Linked DNA regions of Homo sapiens: regions 1, 2 and 3 are each linked to region 4. The links are contacts of gene promoters, found by promoter capture Hi-C in human tissues and cell types (Jung and others, 2019). All regions are on one chromosome and are shown on one strand. The core of a region is centred on a gene start or on the middle of the fragment in contact, and the rest is flanking DNA. Distances in the headings are between cores, read along the strand shown.

What was found. Contacts are between HindIII fragments. The study calls those that stand out against the background at their distance.
Region 1: a contact is called between a fragment that was not itself captured here and the fragment with the promoter of KCNJ2 in region 4, in 1 of the 25 tissues and cell types used here (dorsolateral prefrontal cortex).
Region 2: a contact is called between a fragment that was not itself captured here and the fragment with the promoter of KCNJ2 in region 4, in 1 of the 25 tissues and cell types used here (IMR-90 fibroblasts).
Region 3: a contact is called between a fragment that was not itself captured here and the fragment with the promoter of KCNJ2 in region 4, in 1 of the 25 tissues and cell types used here (dorsolateral prefrontal cortex).

The regions. Positions count from the first base shown.
Region 1 is chr17:69,609,680-69,612,744 of GRCh38, forward strand. The region is part of intron 2 of LINC01483 (long intergenic non-protein coding RNA 1483); the gene reads left to right. Among named protein-coding and RNA genes, the nearest start is that of LINC01483, 17 kb to the left of the region's middle. The HindIII fragment of the contact is 7,727 bases long and covers 1-3,065 here.
Region 2 is chr17:69,524,272-69,527,165 of GRCh38, forward strand. MAP2K6 (mitogen-activated protein kinase kinase 6) reads left to right here. Exons shown (of 12, transcript NM_002758.4): 9 at 630-707; 10 at 2,299-2,438. Among named protein-coding and RNA genes, the nearest start is that of MAP2K6-AS1, 40 kb to the left of the region's middle. The HindIII fragment of the contact is 4,624 bases long and covers 1-2,894 here.
Region 3 is chr17:69,589,475-69,592,228 of GRCh38, forward strand. No RefSeq gene overlaps it. Among named protein-coding and RNA genes, the nearest start is that of LINC01483, 3.1 kb to the right of the region's middle. The HindIII fragment of the contact is 8,856 bases long and covers 1-2,754 here.
Region 4 is chr17:70,167,899-70,170,981 of GRCh38, forward strand. It overlaps KCNJ2 (potassium inwardly rectifying channel subfamily J member 2), which reads left to right and starts at 1,634. Exons shown (of 2, transcript NM_000891.3): 1 at 1,634-1,803. KCNJ2-AS1 (KCNJ2 antisense RNA 1) reads right to left here and starts at 1,504. Exons shown (of 1, transcript NR_036534.1): 1 at 1-1,504. RefSeq lists a silencer at 1,230-1,689. The HindIII fragment of the contact is 1,534 bases long and covers 240-1,773 here.

The DNA.
Region 1 (3,065 bases), core at 466-2,965, 560 kb before region 4:
TAGGGTATTTAGTAGCATCCCTGGCCCTTGCCACTAGATGCCGCTAGAATTTCCTGCCCCTAAAATGTCTCCAGAATTTGCTAAATGTTGGGATAGGGAAGGATTGCCACCTGTCGAGGACCACTGATTTATATTAATGTAACTTTTCTGCATAAAACCATTAAATACCATTACTCAAGGGATATAAGCTGGCTAATGATTTTCTCTGCGGCATTTAGCAAAAAATCCATCTGGTGAAAATACCAGTGAAGAGGAACAGAAACAATTGTAAATCTTCAAAAATCATTCCTTGAGCAAGAAAATGCCTTGGGCTAGCCACTGCCTTCCCCATTCACCCTGACCCCCACCCCAAATACAACATTTTATTTTTAACCATCTAAGTAAGGCTGATGTTGCTGATGGATAACAGCTGCTGTATTAGTCTGTTCTCACACTGCTATGAAGAAATACCCAAGACTGGGTAATTTATAAAGAAAAGAGGTTTAATTGACTCAGTTCTGCATGGCTGCGGAGGCCTCAGGAATCTTACAATCATGGTGGAAGGCATCTCTTCACAGGGTGGCAGCAGAGAGAATGAATGCAAGCAGGGGAAATGCCAGATGCTTATAAAACCATCGGATCTCTTGAGACTCACTCATTATCACGAGAACAGCATGGGAGAAACTGCCACCATGATCCGATTCCCTCCACCTGGTCCCACCCTTGACACATGAGGATTATTACAATTCAAAGTGAGATTTGGGCGGGGACACAGAGCCAAACCATATCAGCTGCAGAGATCTCTGGGTGGAGTGTTATGTGAGTGAGCTTGCTACAGATTGGAGTGAGCCACTGAACTGTTAGGGGCATTTTTCTGATTAGAATTGCATTCTGCTATCTTTGAGTTTCTGCTGAGGTTGCTTGTCATTACATTGGCAGGCAGATAGAAACTATGAGATATGCTATTGTAAATGCATTATTTTCTCTATTATTTATAGCTGTGAGTAGGTAGTGATATAGGTGGTAAGAAAGCAACATCACAGATTTGATATGGTTTGGATTTGTGTCCCTGCCCAAATCTCCTGTTAAATTGTAATCCCCAATATTGGAAGTGGGGCCTGGTGGGAGGTGACTGGATCATGGAGGTGGAATTCTCATGAATGCTTTAGTATCATCCCCTCTTGGTACTGTGTCGTAAGTTCTCACAAGATCTGGTTGTTTAAAAGTATGTGGCACCTCCCCCGTCCCTCTCTCTCTTGCTCCTGCTCTGGACATATGAAGTGCTGGCTTCCCCTTTGCCTTCCACCATGATTGTAAGTTTCCTGAGGCCTCCCTAGAAACCAAGCAGATGCTGTCATTCTTCCTGTACAGCCTGCAGAATTGTGAGCCAATGAAACCTCTTTTCTTTATAAATTACTCAGTCTCAGGCCTTTCTTTCTTTCTTATTTCTTTTTTTTTGTTTGTTTTTGAGACAGAGTCTGGCTCTGTCACCCAGGCTGGAGTACAGTGGTGTGATCTTGGCTCTTTGCAACCTTCACCTCCCAGGCTCAAGCCAACCTCCCACCTCAGCCTCTAGAGTAGCTGGAATCACAGGTGTGTACCACCACGCGTGACTAATTTCTGTATTTTTTGTAGAGACAGGGTTTCACCCTGGTCTCAAACTTCTGAGCTCAGGCGATCTACCTGCTTCAGCCTCCCAAACCGCTGGGATTACAGGTGTGAGCCACCATGCCCAGCCTAGGTATTTCTTGATAGGAGCGTGAGAACAGACTAATACAAGATTGAAAGGAGGAAGGCCAAGGCAGGTGCTAGTAGTTAGATATATATAAGTGCAGTCGAGAATCAGGAATAAAGCCTTGCCAACTGCCCTCTCAGTAGTTTAAAACCTTCAGAAATCTAAATTTAGCAGTTTTATAGGTGATTACTAAGAATTTGTCTCTGCCAGCCAAAGTCAAGAAAGCAAAGAAGAGAATCGTGGTTGCCAGGGGCTGAGGGGAGGGGAAAATGGGGAGTTGCTAATCAAAGGGCAAAAAATCAGTTATGCAGGATGCATAAGCCCCAGAGATCTGCTATGCAACATTCTGTATGTGCACAGCAATTACTATATTGAACACTTAAGAATCTGGTGGGAGGGTAGATGTGGTAAGTGTTAAGTGTTCCTTACTACATTAAAATTTAAAAAAGAAAAAAAAACAGTATGTATGACCTTGTGGGGGAAAAATAAAAAACCTTTAGGTAAAAGAGGTCAGTTTTTTTTTCCTTTTTTTTTATAATCATTTTTTTAATTTTATTATTATTATACTTTAAGTTTTAGGGTACATGTACACAATGTGCAGGTTAGTTACATATGTATACATGTGCCATGCTGGTGCGCTGCACCCATTAACTCATCATTTAGCATTAGGTATATCTCCTAATGCTATCCCTCCCCCCTCCCCCCACCCCACAACAGTCCCCAGAGTGTGATGTTCCCCTTCCTGTGTCCATGTGTTCTCATTGTTCAATTCCCACCTAGGAGTGAGAACATGCAGTGTTTGGTTTTTTGTCCTTGCGATAGTTTACTGAGAATGATGATTTCCAATTTCATCCATGTCCCTACAAAGGACATGAACTCATCATTTTTTATGGCTGCATAGTATTCCATGGTGTATATGTGCCACATTTTCTTAATCCAGTCTATCATTGTTGGACATTTGGGTTGGTTCCAAGTGTTTGCTATTGTGAATAGTGCCACAATAAACATATGTGTGCATGTGTCTTTATAGCAGCATGATTTATAGTCCTTTGGGTATATACCCAGTAATGGGATGGCTGGGTCAAATGGTATTTCTAGTTCTAGATCCCTGAGGAATCGCCACACTGACTTCCACAATGGTTGAACTAGTTTACAGTCCCACCAACAGTGTAAAAGTGTTCCTGTTTCTCCACATCCTCTCCAGCACCTGTTGTTTCCTGACTTTTTAATGATTGCCATTCTAACTGGTGTGAGATGGTATCTCATTGTGGTTTTGATTTGCATTTCTCTGATGGCCAGTGATGATGGGCATTTTTTCATGTGTCTTTTGGCTGCATAAATGTCTTCTTTT
Region 2 (2,894 bases), core at 271-2,770, 640 kb before region 4:
CACTGTATTGCAGGGGAGTATTACCTTGTTTGTTGAGGACAAAATAGTAAATAGAGCTTAAATTACCCAAACAAGGCAGTTAGATTAGTTATGAGAGGACCTCACAGCTGTGAAGATTCACCGTCATTAGCAGAGACCTTGCAATCCCCTTTAACTGGAGGAACGGCCACTAGATTCTACCTGGAAATGGACTTGTGCTTTGAATTGAAAAGCTTCCTGTCTGTGTTTAGCTAAAAATTGCTCAGGTCTATTAGCATGGGACAGTAGCCCAGTGACACTTGTTTTATTGAGTTCTGGACTGTTCATGTTTTAAACAAGGATAATTCTAGATGGGCAAAGTAGCTTTATAATGTATACCCTGTTTCTTCTTAAGGCAAATTTTAAATTTGTTATGAAAGGAACTTGATCCATTACTGTGTCCAAGAAAAGACAAACACAGAAGAAGGGAAACCCCACGGAGGCATTGATATTTGTTGTAGTTAACCGGGTCTTCTTGGCCTTGGTGGCATGTTAACAGCTTATAACAACTCACTTGGCAGCTGGTGCTACCCCCATCCCCAGAGACTATTGAGCTAAGAACGTTATCTCAATTGTCTTCCCAGTTTCTCAGTTGTCTGTCTTCTTTCCAGCCTGAAAGAATAAACCCAGAGCTCAACCAGAAGGGATACAGTGTGAAGTCTGACATTTGGAGTCTGGGCATCACGATGGTAGTGTATGCCAATCATCATGAACTATGAGGTTGTGGGTAATGAAACTAGAATGAGGTGGACGTTGGGTTCAAGAAACAAATGCCCTAAATGCTGGTTTGGGGCGCCCTCTCCTGCTGAGCTGGTAGGAGATTTTGAGTAATAATTGTTTGTATTGTGGTACAATAAAAACACTGATATGGGATTGGGGAAACCAATCTTTCTCTTGATTCCACCTCTGACGAGCTGTATGCCTTTTTGAGTAATTGTTACAGTCACATGGACTATCTTCCTATCCTCCTCTGTAAAACGAGAGGATCTGACCAGATTCCTTATAGTTTAAAATTAAATTATTCGAGCCAAGGCAAGAAGCTTAAGCTGTGCAAAGAATGCTAATGTGCGTGAACCCTGATAGGGCCGTGTTATCCAGGACATAGACTATGCTTCCCAGGATATTTTTATTGGAGAAGTAGAAGTCAAAGTCTGATCAGGTCAGTGTATTAGTTCGTTTTCACACTGCTGATAAAAGCATCCCCAAGACTGAGTAATTTAAAAGAAAAAGAGGTTTAATGGACTCACAGTTCCATGCAGCTGGGGAGGCCTCACGATCATGGCGGAAGGTGAAAGGCACATCTTATATGGCGGCAGACAAGAGAGAATGAGATGAGACAGCCAAGTGAAAAGGGAGATGCTTCATAAAACCATCAGATCTCGTGAGACTTTTTCACTACCATGAGAACCATAGAACAGTATGGGGGAACCACCCCCATGATTCAATTGTTTCCCACTGGGTCCCTCCCACAACATGTAGGAATTATGGGAGCTACAATTCAAGATGAGATTTGGGTGGGGACACAGCCCAACCGTATCAGTCAGGTATATCCTCAATACATGATAACCAATAGGATGATTTCCTTAGACACAGCCCTAAAGTTATATGATTTATTCATAACTTATTCATAACTTTGGTGATTGTAAATTTCATAACTTTGGTGGTCATACATTTTCAGTGGATCACCAAGGTCTGGAATTATCCACTGTGGTCCTGGCTCCTCCCCAGGCACAGCAGCTGAATAAATCCCATGAGTTATTTCTCCTGCCTGCCCAGAAAGCACATGATCCTGTAATGCAAAGTGGCCTTTTCTCAAGTCCAAAAAAAGATCTGTCATTTGGTTCTAGGTTGCTTTTTCTCCCTGTCATTTCACCAAGGGACCTGAAGGTGGCAGTAGATGCTCGGCTCTGGAAAGATCTTAGGCTGGGAATTACTTGTCAGACCAAACGTTTGAAATCCTCGTAGCTTTACATCCTGAAGTTTAATACGGTTGGCTTACAATTTTTATGAAGTGCCACAGTGGGTTTTAGTGAGGGTCCCCATTTTAGATAGGCTTAAGTGGCTGTGTCTAGTAAGTAATATTTAAAAATCCCTAGCACTAGGAATTTGGGGAAAATTGCTAGAGAACAAATTATTAGTTTATTTCCTGCCCCCCTACCCCTGGACTTATACTTGAACTTTGCCTTGTGTTTCCTGCTGTCTATCCACAAATGAAACGTGGGTGATTCCCTAAAGCAGCCCTGTTGAAACTGTTGTCTCCTTTTTTCTTCTTTTCTCCAGATTGAGTTGGCCATCCTTCGATTTCCCTATGATTCATGGGGAACTCCATTTCAGCAGCTCAAACAGGTGGTAGAGGAGCCATCGCCACAACTCCCAGCAGACAAGTTCTCTGCAGAGTTTGTTGACTTTACCTCACAGTGGTAAGACAGCCTCACCTCCCAAGTGTCAGTGTGAAAGAAGAAGATGAGTTCTCATGAATTTCTTCCATCGGGGTTGAATCCATCATGCATACATTCATTCCGAAAGCATTTGTGGAGTATGCCCTCTCTGCTGGAGAAGCAAAGATGACCGTATCACACTCCCTGCCCTCACTGAGCCCAAAGTCAAGTAGAGAAGTCTCATAAATGAATAATTATAGTATAATGTGGCAAGTCCAGTGATAGAGATAGGGGCATAGGCGATTTAAGGAACTCAGAGGGAAGACCTCAGGATAGGCTTTTCTGGAGGAGATAAATCTGGAGCTGCGATCACGAGAGGAATTTTCCAGACAAAAGGGAAATAGGAAAGGAAACATATTCCAAACAGAAGGAACATCATTCACAATGTCACGAAAGCAAGAAACTCCTTTATGTGAGCTTTAAGCAATTTGATGTTGA
Region 3 (2,754 bases), core at 116-2,615, 580 kb before region 4:
AAAATATCAGGGCTTCCTTGCCTTCCTTTCTCAGCCTTGCTTGCGATTAAGTTCGAGCTGTGGACCCGTTTTGGCAAACGGGTTGTGAGCAGAAGTGATGTCTGCTCCTTTGATTTCTGCCCCCCAAATCCCTCCATGACTCTTGGGTTCTTTCCTCCTGTGCTGCAGAGGCCTTGGGAGCTGAGATGGGGAAATGGTGGCAACATGAGATGGAGAAGTCCTGGAGAGAATTTTCCTGTAAAAAATTCTGCACTGGACTTAGCATGAGCAAGAATTGAACCTTTGCGGTGTAGAGCACCCCTCCCCCCATATTTTGGGTTTCTCTTGTTACCTTACCAGAGGGAAGGTTAATTTTTCAAATTTGTATAATATCAGGATGACTGTCCAAATTTTTATCATAGTTCTGAAATGGGAGAGTTCCCTGACCCCCCTTGCAGGACATGTGACAGGGGTGTGGCTCATCTGTTCGGTAGCTGCCACTGCTCAAACCCCTTATGGGAGGGGGAGCACACAGACAGATAGGGGCAGGAGCCCAAGCAGGTGTGTGTTATAGTGAGCTCTTTTAACCTTGCCGTCCATGTGAAGCTTAAGTATTAACCAGTTCAGTGGACCCTCTGCCTTTTTGCAAGGATGGAGGGCCAGAGTGACAGCTTTCTGTATTCTGAGCTCTTGTCCAGCATCCCAGAAAAATTGGGTCACAGACGGATTTGAAGGATGGTGAATGCAGGGGTTTTATTGAGTGGTGGAGGTCTTTCTTAGGGGGTGGATGGGGAGCTGGGAAGGGGATGGAGTGGGAAGATGATCTTTCCCTGGGGTTTGGCTGTCCAGTGGCTGATTCTCCAACCGTCCCCAGCCAAACTCCTCCCGACATTCCTTCTCTTCTCCCCTTCTCTACTACTCTTCTGCTCTTCTCTTTGTCTGCTTCTCTCCTCCTAGAGCTGGGGATTTGTGTTTTATATGGGCAAAGGATAGGGGAGTGTGGCAGGACAAAAGGCAACTTTTGGGTGCAAAAACTGGAATGCCTGTTCCCATTTAGGGCCTCAGGTATCTAGGCTTGAGGGTAGGGCCTTTGCTGGGGACCCCCACCCTCCTGCCTCTTGTTCTTATCATTTCTAAGGCATTGCCTTAGAAACTGTCTGAGAGGTAAAGATTTTATTTCCACAGTCTCATAATTCACATCCCAGTTACTTATGCATATGTCTGGACAAACTTTGGTTGCAGTGTTTGGCAGCTCTTTGTGCTCTGCAAAGTATTTCTGTGGCATTTGAAATGCTCAGACAACCCCAACAATGTGGGAGTTGAGGAGGAGAAAATGTAGATGCAATTTCCCTTCAGAGTTATGCATTTTGCACACAATGCATAGTGGGCGGAACATTTATGTGAATTGTGCCTTTGGGGCATCATTGAAAGTTATGGCCTGTAAGAAAATGGGAATCAGTTTTATTTAAGTTGGTCTTTAAAAGGCAGCCCTAGAGGAAATTTTATCCCCATTATCTCTGTCAACTGCAACTTTTATGTCTTGCTGCTGACTGTCTATTACACTCCTACCTCTCAAGTCATCTTCTGTATCTACATGGCATTATTCCACTTGGGCTTCCTCCCATAATTCATTTTCTCAACTTTAAATTGATTTGTTTTTAAGAGAGAGGGTCTCCCTATGCTGCCCAGGCTGGTCTTGAACTCCTAGGCTCCTCCCACCTCAGCCTCCTGAGTAGCTGGGACTAGAGGAGTCACGTACCACCATGTTTGGCTTTTAACTCTTTGTTTTTGAAATTATCTCAGACTTAAAGACAATTTGCAAAAATAGTACTGAGAGTTTCCATATATCCTTCACCAGTTTCCCCAAATATTCAAATTTCAGCTTGTTTATTACTTGTCTTCTTTTTCTTTCTCTGAAATTTTTGGGAGTAAGTTGCAAATATGATGTCTTTTATCCCAAAATGCTTAAGTACATGTTTCCTAAAAATAAATGTTCTTTCACATAACTGCAGTACAATAAGCAAATTAGGAAATTAATATTGATCTAGTATTAATTTAGTCCAGCAGTTGGCAAATGTGCCTTCCCAGTTATGTTTGTAAATAAAGGTTTATTGGAACATAGCCATGCCCATTTGTTTATGGACCATCCTTGGCTGCTTTCTGCCTACAATGGTATTGTTAAATAGTTGTGGTAGAGACTACATGGCCTGCAGTCTCTGAAAACATTTACCATCTGATCTTCTAGAGGAAACACTTGTGAGGCTTCATCTGGTTGATAGATCTTATCGAATTTTATCATTTGTCCATAATGTCTTTTACTGCAAAAAAAAAAAATAATTCTCATTTGGCATCCTGTCCGTGATCACATATTATATTTGATTGTTATGTCTTTTTATTCTCTTTCATTGTAAAACAATTATTTGGTGTTTCTTTATTGTTCATGACCTTGATACTTTTGATAAATACAGGACATTTATTTTGTATACCACATTTCAGTGTAGGTTTGTGAACTTTTCTCGTGATTTGATTTATGTTAAGCATTTTTGGCAATACTCAGATGTGATGTTTTGTCTTTCTTAGTGCAATCTAATGGGGCGCACATGATGTCTATTTTTCTCATTATTGGTGGTAATTTTGATCCCTTTGGTTAAGATGATAAGGTTTCTCCACTGTAAAATTGTTTTTCCCTTTGTCCTTAATACGTATCTTGTGGGAAAATGCTTTGAGTTTATGTAAGTATCATATTTTAAATCAAACTTCCACCAGTAGTTTTAG
Region 4 (3,083 bases), core at 384-2,883:
TTACAGTATTAATTCAAGCTGTTTATAAATAACACATGACTAAATAGATGTTAAAGAAGACCTCCCTTGGGGCAGGCATTATTCCCACGTGCATGGCAACAGAGTTCGTAACAGGGCTTGGTGAACAGTATAATCTCAACACATTAACTGGGACCACATCGCCATTTGGCTATCAGAGCAGCCACACCGAGTGCATCATCTCTTGCACACCCTTTTAATTTAAGTACCTTGCTCAGTGCTAAGAAAAAAGGCACACTTGTTAAGGCAGGAGTAAGTGCGGATCTGCGAAACCTAAGCAAGCATATTTCACCAGCACCTCCTAGGGGCCACGTGTGGATATGAGGATGGGAGGTGGGGACTCGCACAGAACCTTTCCTTGAATTGTCAGTTTCACCTCTCCTACACACAAAAATCCACCCCGACTGCGCCGTCCACAATACCAGCTAGTTTGCTGAATTAGTTCAGCGACTCAAGGAGGCCTTACGAGGTTTAAATAAACTGCACAAAAGACACATTTGATCGCTCGAGAAAATAAACATTTAAAAAACTCAGTGGAAAGAAAGACTCCTAAAATATATCCTGTCCTTTAGGAGCAAAGCTTCGTTAGGACACCGAAGTACTCAGAAATAATAGGCACTTACTCTTCGGTTTACACACACACACACACACACACACACGGATTAGTTTATAAAGTTCCAGGATCCAGACCCGGTTAACACTGAAGTTGCTTTTTAGGGGTCTGCGCGCTCTCGCCTGGCTGCTGGGAAGGAGGGCTGGGAGGCGCTGAAGCGAGGGCAGATCTGAGTGTCTGTAGGAGTTGCTATTCCAAAAAAAATCATTACTCTCTAATTGTTCTGATTTTAGATCAGCAAAGCGTGCCGGGCGGTGGTGGAGAGACTGAGGGCGGACAAGGCGAGAGGGAACGAGCCGTCCACCCTTCGGAGAAGCCTAGGCGCCTTGTAAGTAATTCGCGAACAGTCGGGAGAACAAACAGCCAAGCGGCGCTGCAGTGGCCGCACTTGCGCGCGTCTCAATCCTGGGGGCTCTGCGCGCCCGCCCCAGTCCCTCGCCCCATTGACTCAGTGGCTTCTCCGGGCGCTGCAGCCTCCGCGGGGGGCTTCGAAGGGCCGAGGGGCTCCGGCAGAGAGGGAGTGGAGAGGGAGACGCGCCGGGACCGACGAACAATCCTGCCCCTGCGGCAAAGGTCTCTACCCGGCGCTGGCACCTCGCAGGCCCCTCGAGGAGCACGCAGGGCAAGCGGCCCAAGAGCGGGGGAACCGGGAAGTGTGTGGGGCTCCAGACGGAGTAGGAAGCTTTGCCCAAGGCCAGGCTGCAATCAGGCAGCCGCAACAGCCGGGCGCGGAGCTTCCCACCTGCTGCTGTCCCAGCTGGGCCGCAACTTCCTCCTCCCCGGCCCGGGCCCGACTCCCCGGCCGGGCTCCGAGGGTGGAGGGGGACGAGGCGGCGGCAGGTTCCCTCCGCTGGCAACGCCTCGCAGCATCCTCCCCTCCCCGCCGCGGTTCCCGGGGCCGGCCGCGCGGCCAGGCGCGCTGCGATTGGCCGGCAGCGGCCGGGGGCGGGGCCAGGAGAGCCGGTGTCGCACGGACCGCCTCAAAAGAGCCCAGGATATTGCAGAGCGCACTGGAGCCCTGGCCAGCGCGCAGCCTTCCCGGCGCCGGCGGGCTGGGTCTTGGGAATTCTGGTTTGCTTTGGCTCACTCGCTTTTTACAAACCACTGGATCTTACATGCCTCTGTACCCCCCACTTCCACTCCATGTCCCCATGCTCCTGCGCCAGCAACAGGTAAGGGCTGCTGTGTTTTCTTCCTTTTCGCTCGCTGCCGGTGTGTCCTGGGGAATGGACTCTGGCCGCCGTCCCCTACCCTACCCTGCCCCGCTGCTCCAGAGGTGCCCAGCTGTCACACTGCTGTAGCGCTCACCCACACTCCGGAGTCCCAGATCATGCCTATATAGTTTGTGTGCGCACCAGAACATCCCCAGAGCTAAAAATACTGAGACATGCTTGGAACAGTTGAGCAATAGAAACAGATTTCTCTGCAGCATCTGTTTGTGCTCATAACTTCCAATGCACCAGCTGTAGCGAGATACTGGGTTTGGAGGCAAGGGCGAGAGCGTCTGTGTTCGGTTCTCACTCTAAGTGGGGAAAAAAAGAAAGAAAACGTGGTTGCGGGTTTGGGGGTGCGTCTTGAGCCCTGGTCTTAAACCTTGGCAAAGCTTGGGACTCAGCACTATTCTTGATCCTTGGCTTTTTTTTTTTTTCGTCATTGCTTCAAGTATAGCTGTGAGTTTCAAACAGAGTGAGTGTCTCAAAGTTGCCTTCCTGAAAGAAGAGCGGGAGCCCGAGTTGGATTTGAGCCTGAGGATCGCAAAACTTTCACATTACATATCACTCTCCCCTAACCAATTTGTTATTTTCAGTAATAATGGTATTAATACCTGGCTTGAAGACAGTGTGGTTTTAGGAAAGCAAAATAGTCAAAACGACTTGATTCTGCAAAAAGATTGCATCATAGCGTGGATTCATCATGACAATTGGAAAAAAAATAGGGATAGGGAATGGGCAGTTTAATGTCTGTGTCTGGGTAAGGATATCATAGGATGATCACTAGGATAAAAGGCTGTGAATTCCGACGATTTTCATAAATTCAGATTTTACCTGTTAGGAAATAAGGTGTTATTTGAAAACCTCGGATATGCAAAGAAACCATATTGCGTTTTATCATTTGTTTTCTTTTCACATTAATAATCAATAGGCTGCCAGATTTCCTCTCGCCAACCAATGTTGTGTGTCTGCTGTACATTATCTGTACACTTGTTAGCGTTTTCCTGCTCACTTCCAAATGTTTCATTTCTATTTGCCATTATCTGGAAAAATCCTGGTGCTCAGAAGGGGTAAGAGATGTTAATTGAAGCATGGTGGAAAGGGTGAGGATAAGGTCAAGGCCATTTTACTTAGCTTCCTCCTCTCTCATATTTTAATGACACTTTATTTTTTAATGTTCTTGGTCTCCATAAGAAATATTTGATCTAAACTCATGTGAATTTTGCTTTTAAAAAAAATAA